Linked DNA regions of Homo sapiens: region 1 is linked to region 2. The links are contacts of gene promoters, found by promoter capture Hi-C in human tissues and cell types (Jung and others, 2019). All regions are on one chromosome and are shown on one strand. The core of a region is centred on a gene start or on the middle of the fragment in contact, and the rest is flanking DNA. Distances in the headings are between cores, read along the strand shown. Region 1 overlaps PDGFD (platelet derived growth factor D). Region 2 holds the start of DDI1 (DDI proteasomal shuttling factor 1).

Evidence for each region. Contacts are between HindIII fragments. The study calls those that stand out against the background at their distance.
Region 1: a contact is called between a fragment that was not itself captured here and the fragment with the promoter of DDI1 in region 2, in 2 of the 25 tissues and cell types used here (spleen and stomach).

Annotation. Positions count from the first base shown.
Region 1 is chr11:103,945,881-103,951,800 of GRCh38, reverse strand. It overlaps PDGFD (platelet derived growth factor D), which reads left to right. Exons shown (of 7, transcript NM_025208.5): 4 at 4,077-4,139. Among named protein-coding and RNA genes, the nearest start is that of PDGFDDN, 42 kb to the right of the region's middle. The HindIII fragment of the contact is 3,092 bases long and covers 2,709-5,800 here.
Region 2 is chr11:104,034,153-104,040,530 of GRCh38, reverse strand. It overlaps DDI1 (DDI proteasomal shuttling factor 1), which reads right to left and starts at 3,891. Exons shown (of 1, transcript NM_001001711.3): 1 at 1,335-3,891. The coding sequence starts at 3,708. The coding sequence ends at 2,518. All of the region lies in intron 1 of PDGFD (platelet derived growth factor D), which reads left to right. The HindIII fragment of the contact is 14,414 bases long and covers 1-6,378 here.

The DNA.
Region 1 (5,920 bases), core at 3,005-5,504, 89 kb after region 2:
GAGTGACCAAGAGTGGGAGTATTTTAAATAGAATGCTCAAAGATGTTAGATATTTGAGCAGAGAACTAAATGATGAGGAGCCAGCCATTGGAGCGTTTGGGGAAAGTGCATCCAGGCAGGGAACAGCAGTGAATTAAACCTGAGGGGAGAAGAGGCTTGTCGTGTTATTTGCAGGACTGAAAGAAGGCCAGTGTAGCAGGAGTGGAGGTAGTGGGAAAGGTAGGTTATCAAATCAGAGGACACCAGAGGAAAGAAGTTCATAGAGGCAAATGGTAGTCAGATCTTATTTTGCCAAATTCTAAGAGCAATGGAAAGCTATTGGAAGGTTTTAAGCAGACGACAGAAGTGATTTGATTTACCATTAAAAGAGATAATTCTGACCCTAGGGGAAGAGCTAACAGGCAGTTGGGAAACTTGCTGGTTTCTAAGTGGACTTAGGAGGTTATGGCGGAAGAGATGAGAAATAATCATATTGTGGATTTAGCAGGTGAATCCTCCCTATTGCCAAGATTCTCCTTTCAGGGCTAAAACCTTGGAGGTTCGGTGTTTTATTTTTATAAGGGATGTCATTCCTTTTTATAAGCTTAATTTAAATATGTCATCTATAAGTAATGGTAAACTTCTGAAGTAACACAAAAGTTGGTTTCTTTTCAGTGTCTAACATTTGTATTGCTAAGAGAAGATAAAGTTATGTTTTATCTGGGACTTAATGAAATCTTTTATCATTTGCTCTTATTAAAATTTCAAACTGGAATCCTGTAGCCCAGACAGTGAAGAAGCTAAAAGTTCTTGTGTAACATTTGTTTAGGGGCTTGTGCACCAAAGTCCCTTTCTGCTTAAAAAAATCTTAGCAAAATATTTTTACCATGTGTCTATGCAAGGAAATGAACTGAAATCACAGAATTTACTAAGGATAGATATGAAATCTAAATAACTAAGGCTACTTCAAAGGGTGTCCTCATAGAACCACCCACCAGCACTCAGCTTCAACTATATGCGTTTCCTGCTCTGTTGATTCCCCTTTTGGAAACTGTTTCATCGTTTTTCTCCCCATACACACATTATCCAAGGCAGCTGTAACACTGTGGAAGGTCACCAACCACACAGTTTCTACTTAGAAATGAGCTTTGGTGGCCTTAGCTTTGCCAGAAAATGGGTACATGATACAGAACACATCATCTATCTCTCTAAGCATTCATTTTCTTATTTATTTATTTATTTATTTATTTTTTCTTTTGAGACAGAGTTTCGCTCTTGTTGCCAAGGCTGGAGTGCAATGGTGCAATCTTGGCCCACTGCAACCTCCGCCTCCCAGGTTTAAAAATTCTCCTGCCTCAGCCTCCTGAGTAACTGGGATTACAGGTACATGCCACCACACCTGGCTAATTTTTTTTTTTTTTTTTTTTGTATTATTAGTAGAGATGAGTTTTCACCATGTTGGCCAGGCTGGTCTTGAACTCCTGACCTCAAGTGATCCACCTGCCTTGGCCTCCCAAAGTGCTGGGATTACAAGCGTGAGCCACCACTCCTGGCCAGTTTCCTTATTGTTTAAATAAGGAGATTGGACTAGATAATTCTAAAACTATTTCCAGTTCCAAGATTTTAAAACTGTCCCTCTTCTGATTTTAACACATGGTCAACATAACCCTTTACTTTGTTGAATTGCATTTTTGTGTTGATACTTCCCAAATCTATATCTCAAGGTCACATGTGGTCCATTCTCTCTCATGCGGTCCATTCTCATGTAGCAAACTTCCCCCCGAACATCTCCATCTGTACATAGTGTAGGCTTCTCAAACGCACTATGCCCAACATGACTCATAGTTTCCCCAGTAAGTTGTTTATTTTTCTGTATACTTTCCTCACCTTGTCTAAGCATTGCTTTCCCTTTGAGTCTTCTACCCGCGTTTTCTGCAAGAAGCAACTATTTATCTTCCAAGACTCTACTAACAAATCAGCTTCCTATGTGAAATTTTTTCAAGCCCACTTTCTCCCCAGGTACAACCACCTATTACTACCTTCCATGGCATGCTGAGTAGACTGGTATCAGAGCACCCACATGCGTTTACTGCACGTGTTTATTTGTGTGTTTACGTTTCGAATTCCTTGAGGGTAGGGATAGTTTTTATTTCCTCATGATCCTACCCACAGCTCAGAAAGTATTAATAGCAGGTGATTAACAAATATTGAATGAACAAGGGAAAATGAAAATTCTGTAATGTGAGGATTGCTCCTGTCATTACCATACCTGGCATATGTCCTCCACCAATAGTCTCATCAAGGAATGGAGAAGCCACTGGCTCTCTGGCTTCTTGCCTAGTCTTATGTGCTCACCGACTTATGAAGACTCATATAAATGCCAGCCTTCATTTGATTATACACATCTTCCCGCTGTGGGAATTCAGTGTCCTTTTAGTGTCTATTCTGTTTTGCAGAGTGCAGATACCACATTTCCTGCTTCTTTTCTATCTTCCCTAGGATTAAGATTAGAATAACGAGGCCGGGCCCAGTGGCTCATGCCTGTAATCCCAGCACTTTGGGGGGCCGAGGTGGGTAGATCACCTGAGGTCAATAGTTCAAGACCAGTCTGGCCAACATGGTGAAACTCCATCTCTACTAAAAATACAAAAATTAGCTGGGTGTGGTGGTGCACACCTGTAATCTCAGCTACTAGGAAGGCTGAGGCAGGAGAATTGCTTGAACCTGGGAGGCAGAGGTTGCAGTAAGCCAAGATCACGCCACTGCACACCAGCCTGGGTGACAGAGTGAGACTCGGTCTCAAAAAAAAAAAAAAAAAAAAAAAAAGTGACTAAAATAATGATGTCTAGTCGGTTTCTTTCTTTCTTTCTTTTTTTACTTTAAGTTCTGGGATACATGGTGGTTTGTTGCACCTATCAACCCATCATCTAGTCAGTTTCTAATATTTGTTCATTTTTTGAACCCCGCATTTGACTCGGTTCTCTCTCAGTAATCAGCTGAAATTTTATTAAACACAGGAAATTTATATATAAACCAGCCTCATCATAACCAATTAACAAATGTACTTCCAGCTCCTCAAAATGTTAATGAAATTTACACCTGATACTAAGCTCTCATTCAGTAGGTATACTTGGATAAATAAGCTGTCAGACTAGAGTGGCTGAACATTTCTCAGCATCCTCTCAAAACACCTCCCACTCCTCGGTAAGGCTGGAAAATATTTGCTAAAGTGATTTATTTTAGCAAGGTCAGAAAGCCATCTGTGGATTGTAAAAATGACAGAATTAGTTTTCCTTCCCTTAATGTTTTTTAAACTTCCTGGTGCTGTAGTAATTAACATGGAGGTCACATACAAATGGGAGACAAGTTTGCCTTTTAAGAGAAGTTTTTTCTGTGTGATCTATTGCTATCACACATCCACTAAGGCTTATCTGAGATAACTAATGTTTTCAAGTCTGCCCTTGACCTTCCTTCCCCAAATGGGCAGTACTTAGTCACTACCAGTCATTTTCTTCCCCTGCCATCCTTCCTTATATTTGTTGATATAGTCAGGAACAACCCCTTGGAAGTTAGTGTATCGTTGAAAAGATCACCAATATTTTGGACCAGGTCAGCAGGCAAGATTGAACATAATGCGTAACCTAGTTTAAACCAACTATATGTCAATAATGATAATTATTATTATTCTTTATCAAACACTTTATTCAGTGCCATTGGTAATTACATAATTAATGCATTTAATTCTTAAAACAGCCCTATAATGTAAGGATTCCATACTAGCTGAGGAAAGGAAGGACTGGAGGGGTTGTCAGTTGTCTGTGGTCACACAGCCAGTAGATGGCCAAGTTAAAATTTGCATTCCTTCCTGTGCCTTTTCCATTTCACCAGTACTTACAAGAAAATGTCCATGTCTTAAATGAGAAGGGTTCTTGAGGAGATGTGCTTAAGACAAATGGTGACCTGTTCAGCAGGAATATAGCCCTATGTCTGTTGTCACTTAGTTGGAAAAAGATTCAGAAGGCTGAGATGTTGAAACTGTGCACATAATGAATTGAACAGAGGTTTGACTGACTCACAGATGTTTCTTTGCCTTCCAGGAAGATTTCCAACCCGCAGCAGCTTCAGAGACCAACTGGGAATCTGTCACAAGCTCTATTTCAGTAAGTAATTTATTACTCTGTTGCCAGCAAAAGAAACGGATGGAACAGCTAAGGTCAACCCCAAAAGGACTTCACCTGCATTAAGGACCTGTGGCTTGATCAAAAGCTAGATCTCAAACAGGATGTGTTTCTCCATTTCATTCAGGTTACAATGGATTATGTCAGAAACCCTTTTCCCTGTCTGTCAGAAATGTTTCCAGGAACTGCCAGTATAGCATGGTAGGAACTCACACTAGGTAATAACTTAAATATTTTTCATTTTCAGAGCAGAGCATTCCAATTAAAGGTCTGTCCAAACATATCAAACATATCAAACTAGTTCATGGCCCACACTCAAGTGGGGAATTTCAAAATAGCTTTCGAATATTCCTGGGGAAGACGTTAACCTTTGCATTTTCAAGGGTCTTTTCAGACTTGAAAAATCCCAATGTTTACAGTAAGATAATAAGTGCAAATCAGGCATGTATTCTATTTTACTTGGATATAAAACATAACTCACCCTGAAGCTGTAAAATGGTTCATGCTCCAGTTTTTCTCTAAACTTAGTCATTTCTCAGTATTCAGTCTCCTTATCTACTTTGCACAGAAAGAACAGACCTTGTTTTCACCAATCCTATGTGTGGCACTTATGTAGCAATAAAATACAAGATAATAAATGCAGTTGTTTACTAAAAGGTCAAGAACATAGAGAAAGCTTGCCCATGGTTCTGAGTAGGTCCGTGTGGCTGAGTCAGAGTTGTTGTTTTTTTTCCTAAAATTGGTATGTTATCTTTTGCTCTCTGGAGGATTTTTTAAAAACTCTTTCATATGGCAGGATTCCCTCCACTATGAATTATGTGGCTATTTAATTCACCTGGTATGGATGCTGGACTAGAACCTCATCTGATCAAAAGATTGGAGAGATCTTTGACAGTGATAATAAGTGTTTTGTGTGCTTTCAACAGTCCAGAATACATGCTCTGAACCTAACTTGGTGTAGGCAATCATTATCAATTAGATGAAAGTCAACACAAGGCAGATATGCTGAAGAGGTGCTCAGGCTAAGCAGGAGGGTCACAGTAGAGGCTGATAACTCAAGGCAGACACCAGCAGTTTTTGCAACCTTGACTGAGGGTCATGGGATGCTGCAGCTTCTCAGGCACCTTCGACATGATAGCTCAGGGTTGTCTAATGATTCTTGCTCCAACCACAGAATTACAAGCCTTAAAGGACCTTCAACAAATTAAGAATAACCCAGGTCCTTTAAAAGAGAGGCATTGTCTCATCCTTTTGGAGTATCTGGGGAAGTTCCCTGGGTCCAAATCCACTGCAAAAGCTTCTCGTTTGAGTTTCAAGTCTAGGTGCTGCTTAACTCTCTTGTAAGACCAAGCTAGTTTCTTTACTCAGCACTCCATTGTTCAAGAACTTTCTGGAGCAGGAGCAGGGGTCATTGGACCTACCATTGACTTCTGTTTAAACCATACTTTGTTTTTGTTGAAAGTGGTTTTGCATTTCCAGAGCATTTCTTTTTTACAAATTGTTATCATTTTAAATTAATGCAGTTAACTTCAGAATTGATTTTTATAAATACGTGACAAAAGCTGAATGAAATCATATTTACTGTTCAGCTGAAGGAGACACATTAAATTAGTTCTTTTTCTCAAAAATAGTTTTAAAATATTTACCTCAGAAACCAAAATGTTCTTGTAGTCTTATTAGGTCACCTCATCATTCATAAATATTTCCTCAGCTGTCGTTGTTGTTTCTGTCAACTGCCCTAAATCAAAACTTGAAAACAGCAG
Region 2 (6,378 bases), core at 2,642-5,141:
CCAAAACTAATCCATTTAAAATTTAATTGATTAGGACCTTTTTAAGTATACACAGAATTACATGAAGACATTAATGAAACTAACTTTTCAAACACTTTTCAATTTGAAAGACGATTTTTAAAAGTTAATCAATAAAGGCATTGCTTAATTAATTCATTTTGTTTAATGATTTTTCTTTGAAGTCATTGCTTTTCAATTCAGTATAGATGATTTTAATTTATTCATTCATTCACTCAAATCATGTTTTTAGGATTTGGAATATGGCCAAAGAAACGTGAAATTTTTAGGAGAATCCAAATTTGTCCTATGAGGAACAGTTAAAGAATCTGGTGAAAACCTACTGAAGTCTAAAAATGAATATGTGGGCTGATACTCATTTCATATATTAAAAAGTTTATCTCATGCCAGAAAGATTAAATGTGGTCTTGGCAGAAGGAAGAATGAAGACCAACTTACTGGAAGTTATGGGACAGTAGATTTCAGCTCAAAATAAGAAACAAATAATTATACCTGAGATTTGTCTCAAAACATTATAGCTACCTCAGAAGGGGTGTTCCTCTGAGAAGGTAGGGTGGGTATGGTCAGATTTGGTATCATGTGAACTGTCTTTTATCTTAAAAATTCTGTGGCTAACTTTAAAGGGTCAGACACCCTGAGGAGTCCCATGTGATATATGCAAATAAGACCTTTTTTTCATAAATGAACCTTAAAATTGAATTCAGAAGATGCTGAGGACTTTGCATATTTTTGTCAGTGAGATAATCCATGAATTTATCAGGGCAATTTAAATTTATTCATAAGCATTTTGCTTATCCCTGACTTTACTCTGAATGTCTTTTTTTGTTAATTGCATTTGTTTTGAGTTCTTAATTACAAACAAAAGTAGGAAAGAAATCTGTTCATTTGATCATTTTTAGTAGTTCTACTGGGTATAAAACTTTGTGCAAATGTAGACCAGACTGGGAAATGTGAGCATGGGAACACCTATAGAGAAGAAAAATGGGAGGTGAACTGATGGTGGCTAGAAAGGAAGAGGTGACTCTCTTTAGAAAGGTTGATTAGTATTACCAAGAAGCAAAACAAAAAGTATATGGAGATTATAAGGGAGAGTTATTTTTTTCTGTATCCTTTGGGAATGCTTTATGTGGCTTTATATCTTGTCGGGAAAATAGAATAACTTAAAGGATATCCCAGATCCTTTAAGATAATGAGGTTTTAGTGCTTGAAAAGTGACCCCTCCCAGGAAAAAAAAAATTATTAGGTGAGGAATCTCAGTTGTAAAGTAGGTGAACTAATTTGTCTAAGTAATTAAGTGTAATCAAAACATACACATCTTGATTTTGAATCCGCTGTTTTAATACTAGTTTTGATAAATTATTGTCCTGAAACATTTCCCCTGCATCTGATGGCCTCAGGAAGCTGAAACTTTTCTCTCAGGTGCTTTAGCCATGGGTTGTAATTAAGTCTAGGATCTTCCATTACCCACTGTCAGTTGTAATAAACACTAACATTGTCAGAATGGATAATTCTGAATGAGGCCTTAGAGATCTTCTCATTCAAAAGTTTTCAAATGTTATTTTAACAGTGAAAACCTTTGTTCAAACAATACTGATGTAGCAGCAGCTTAATGTATAAAGCAGATTTTTACTTTGAAAAAGAGAGAGAGATGATCTAGTTGCAATGACTATTAGAGAACCTGGACCACTGCCTGTCCCCACCTCTCATTCCCACCACTGTACAACTTGACTCCCAAGAAGTACCATAATTTCTTTTTTAAAAAATCTAATTTATTGCCTTTGTTTTATAGCCAGAGTTTCTTTGAATGCAGGAGAAATAGAAAATTAATGTAGCATCCTTGGAGATAAATCCACTTTCTCAAATATGGCAAAAATAGTCTTTAGCTGTGGATTGCAGGGTGACTGCAGGGGATCCAGGGGAAGGGAAGGTGTAAATATGAGGAAATTGGTCTTTATGCTGCCCCAAACAGACATGTATAAGTATTAGTTAACATCATAGTGTAACTGACCTACCATTTCTAATACCCTTCCCAAAGAAAACAAAACCTGTGAAAATGGGCATATTTCTCTCAGTAGAAAGAATTATTAGTGCTGATGTGAAATAGTTTTATGTGGATGCCTTGTAAGGTCTGCAGCCATAGCATTTTTCCAGGGAATTCTGCAAAATAGCAATGATTTGGATAAGCCACCTGTAATCTGATAGGATAGTGTCTCTAAAGGAAGAAGCTGGTTTTCTTTTTCATGGATTATCTGGAAATCAGCTGGAGCCTCCAGAGCCTTCCCAGGATGCCTTTCAGTGATCTCTGGACAAGGGAAATGGAAGAGGGACCAAGACCAAGGAATCAGGATTGACGTTAGTTACCCATCTGAGAACGTAGTCCCAAGGCCAGGTTTAGTTGTTACTGATGTTTTTTAATGATTACATTGCCAGTAAGCTCTTAACTTATAATTGCCGGGGACCTGAGGCTCCCTCAAGGTGGTAACATATTTATAACGTGCTTTAATGCTCTTTTCGTCCTGAATCCATGACTGAATGTGTAATTTCCTTGTCCGAAGACTCATCTTGCCCACTTACCATCCTAGAGCATAAGGGCAACTCTCCCTCAGGAAGAAAATAAGTCTGCGTGCCAGTGGTGCCGATGACCAGCACATTTTTCTTCAAATCGATGGAACATTGATGTCTCCGGAGCATATCTAGGCCTAGAAGCATATCCATGGGTTGATCCTCAAGTATGGAGAAAGAGCACTGTAAGAAATCACCTTCAATTTGAATCTGAGCTAGATGAACACGGCCAATAATTCTCTGTGTGCCCACTCCTTTAGCAACCCCAGCCCACCGTCGGTCCACCAGCCTCATGATGTTACATCGCTCGGCACAAGCCTGGCTCATAATGGTCATCTGGGCGCCCGAGTCAACAAAAGCCTTCAAAGGATGCCCATTCACTTTGCAGTTAATGTAGAGCATCGTCACTTGTCCAAAACTCTCGGGGGCCTCTTCTATCGCTATATTCATGTTTTCTTCAATGTTTTGCTGCCGGATTTCCTCTTCTATTTTGGCCTGAGCTTCCCGATCCAGTGGGTCGGCTGTGTAGAGACGAAGCCTCTCTTGCTCTCTCAAGGCCTTTTCCCTTTGCTGCTCCATCAGCACCTGAGAAAAGGTCTCAAGGCTTCCGCTGAGCAGGGCTTCCGCCAAGGGAGGGTTGCGTTCCTTGAGCAGGGACAGATCGTGGGGGTTGGAGAGCAGCATGCTGCGGATCAGGGCGGGGCTGCCCAGACCTTGCAGGCCGGCCACCTTCTCTCCTGACGCCAAGCCCTGTGACCGCTGGGCAGCGGGTGTGCGCTGCTGCTGCTGTCCAGGGTGCTGTGGACGGGAGCTGGACGTCCCAGGCACCGCAATGCCACTGAAGTCTACACGAGGCTGGTTCGGGGCACGCCCTGGAGCCCGAGGTCCCACATTGTCCTTCTGCAGTAAAACCACGATATCGCCATCTTTGAGGCCGTAGGAGCCCAGGGAACAGTGGTCCTCGATGAGGAGTCGCTCCATGTGGATGATCTGGATCTCTTCGACGGGGACTCTGGACTCCGCTTCGCAGAGGACCTTGAAGTTTCGGAGCTCAAAGTCGGGGCTGACCTGGAGAGAGAAGGTGACCTCGGAGAGGTCCCTCCGCACGCAGTACACGGTGATCAGCATGGCGGGGGCCCGGGCGGGCCGGGCTAGCAGAGGGCATGGGCGGCTCACTGGCGGGCTGGGGCGGGCCTGCGTCGTTGGTGCCGCTGCTCCTCAGGACTTGGTAGGTAGGGACCGTCCGGGCTCATTCACCTCTCAGAGAGGCGCGGACACTCATCTGTCTGGGGGCTGTCTCCCAGCCTCAGTGCCTGCTGTGTGGCCAGGTGGAGCCTTGAGGTAGCACGTTGTGTTCCAAAGTCCATTTCTAAGTGTGCTGTTTGGAACCTAGAATGCCTACTCCCATGGATACACGATGGCTCAAAGCTGTCAGGTTTCAAGGCCAGCCCTTCAAAGCCTATTTAACACATGATATGAAAGAAATGATTTCAACACATTTTTTTTTGAGACAGGATCTTATCCTGTCACCCAGGCTGGAGTACAGTGGCATAATCACAGCTCACTGTAGCCTCGACCTCGTAGGCTCAAGCAGTCCTCCTCTCTCAGCCTCCTGAAAAGCTGGAACTACAGGCACAGTCTACCATGCCCGGCTAATTGTTGTATTTTTTTTTAATAGATTTGGGGTCTCACTGTGTTGTCCGGGCTGGCCTCCAACTCCTGGGCTCAAGCAATCCCCCACACTTCGGCCTCCCAAAGTGCTGGAATTACAGGTGTGAGCCACCATGCCTAGTTTTTCAACACTTTCTAAACAGCATATTATCATTTGTTTTGTTCATTTTAGAGTTGTATTCTTTGTACTTTTGTTTTTTCCCCAAACAGTAAGGATTTGTTTCTTACATGGCAAGTACCATTCTATGTGCATAGTAGGAAAGTCAGATTTGGAGCCTGCCCTTGAGGAGCTCACATTTCTGGAAAGGGATAGACAGGTGAATGGGTAATCACAATACTAAAGGCAAAATCTTTTACAAAGACATGTTCAGGGTACTGCCTTTAGTATCACCAACAGAACAGAGGATATTTTCCTAAGGAGGAGACAAGCTGGATGTTGAAGGATGAGCATCTTCCAGGTGCAAAGTGGTCTCACTCCAAAGGAAAGCAGTTTCATGTTACAAAAGCAGGAATTTATGGCAAGGGCTGTTATTTCTAGAGAAAGATGAGACATTTTGTGCAATAAAAAAATTGTACATGACTTTGAATACCAGGATATGAAGCTGGAAAAAAATTAGTTGAGCCAATTGATGAAGTCATATGTGAATCTACGGAGTTTAAATATTAAATATTATCAATTAGCAAGAATTCCTCCTCCAAAAAAAAAAAAAAAAAAAAAGAAAAAGAAGTAAGGAAGGAAAGGAAAGGGAAAAGATTTGAAGCAGGTGTTTGTGATTTTTTTTTTTAAATTGACTTAAGGAAGAGGCTTCTTGCAACACATGGAGGACATAATGTGGCAGGAGGGCCAGTCAGGAGGCTTTTCCAGTGGTTCAAAGAGGGAGCTGTTGCTAGAGTGTGGAAAGTCAGGAGGCCCAAAGCCAAAGCAGTAGAGAATAAACATGTTTCTTGAGTAAAATGGACAGAGTGTGCATACCCCTTGGAGGTGGGGAGTGTAAAAAAGTGGAATGTGTGGATAACACAGAGGGTCTCTAAAATGGGATATAGGGTAGATGGGCCATTGCCTTGAAGGGGAATGAATGAATGAGTGAGATGAACCTTTGAGGTGACCCATTTGACATCAGTTCTGTAGGAAAATTCATTAAGGATGCCACCCTAGAGGCCAATATGCCTCTCTCTGACATTTGGGCACAGCCACCTTCTCCCTACTCTCCCCCACCCCCACTTACACACACACACATACAAGGCTGTCATGGTGAAAAGTCCTTCAAGGCAAATGATGATTGGGTAGAAATCCTTGCATGCCAGTTATTTTTCTCTATGTTTAATAAAGTGTTTTGCTGCCTGGCGCGGTGGCTCATGCCTGTAATCCCAGCAGTTTGGGAGGCCAGGGTGGGCGGATCAAGAGGTCAGGAGATCGAGACCATCCTGGCTAACATGGTGAAACCCTGTCTCTACTAAAAATACAAAAAATTAGCCAGGCGTTGTGGTGGGCGCCTGTAGTCCCAGCTACTCGGGAGGCTGAGGCAGGAGAATGGCATGAACCTTGGAGGTGGAGCTTGCAGTAAGCCGAGATTGCGCCAGTGCACTCCAGCCTGGGTGACAGAGCGAGACTCCATCTCAAAAAAAAAAAAAAAGTGTTTTGCACTGTGCAGAGCTCATGTTTCCCTGGCTTGGTACTCCCAGGTGTACCTACTTATGAACCAAGATAGTCGATATCCTCTGCCTAGTTTCACCCCCTTCTTTGAAGGGTTGTTAGAAGGCCTGCACTGTTACACCATTATTCCATTATGGAGAGAAGGAAGTCACATCAGCCTAAATAATTATTTTTTGGCTCCTGTTTCTCATGTATTTGTCTCAGATGGAAGACTATGTCTCGCTCACTGCTCTAATTATCATAATGTTTCTATACTCATATTTGCTTATATTAGAAATGTTGACTGAACGCCCAGTGTATGTGAAGCATGTGCTAAGTTCTAGGGAAACAGACGTGAATAATGTTAAATATAGGCTGTATTCTTAAAGGAGCTCACAGTCTAAATTAGAGCACATGCACACACACAAATTGAAGGGTAAAAAATACCACAGTAGTGGTATTCAGGAGAAATTAATAATATCTGAAGAAGAGAT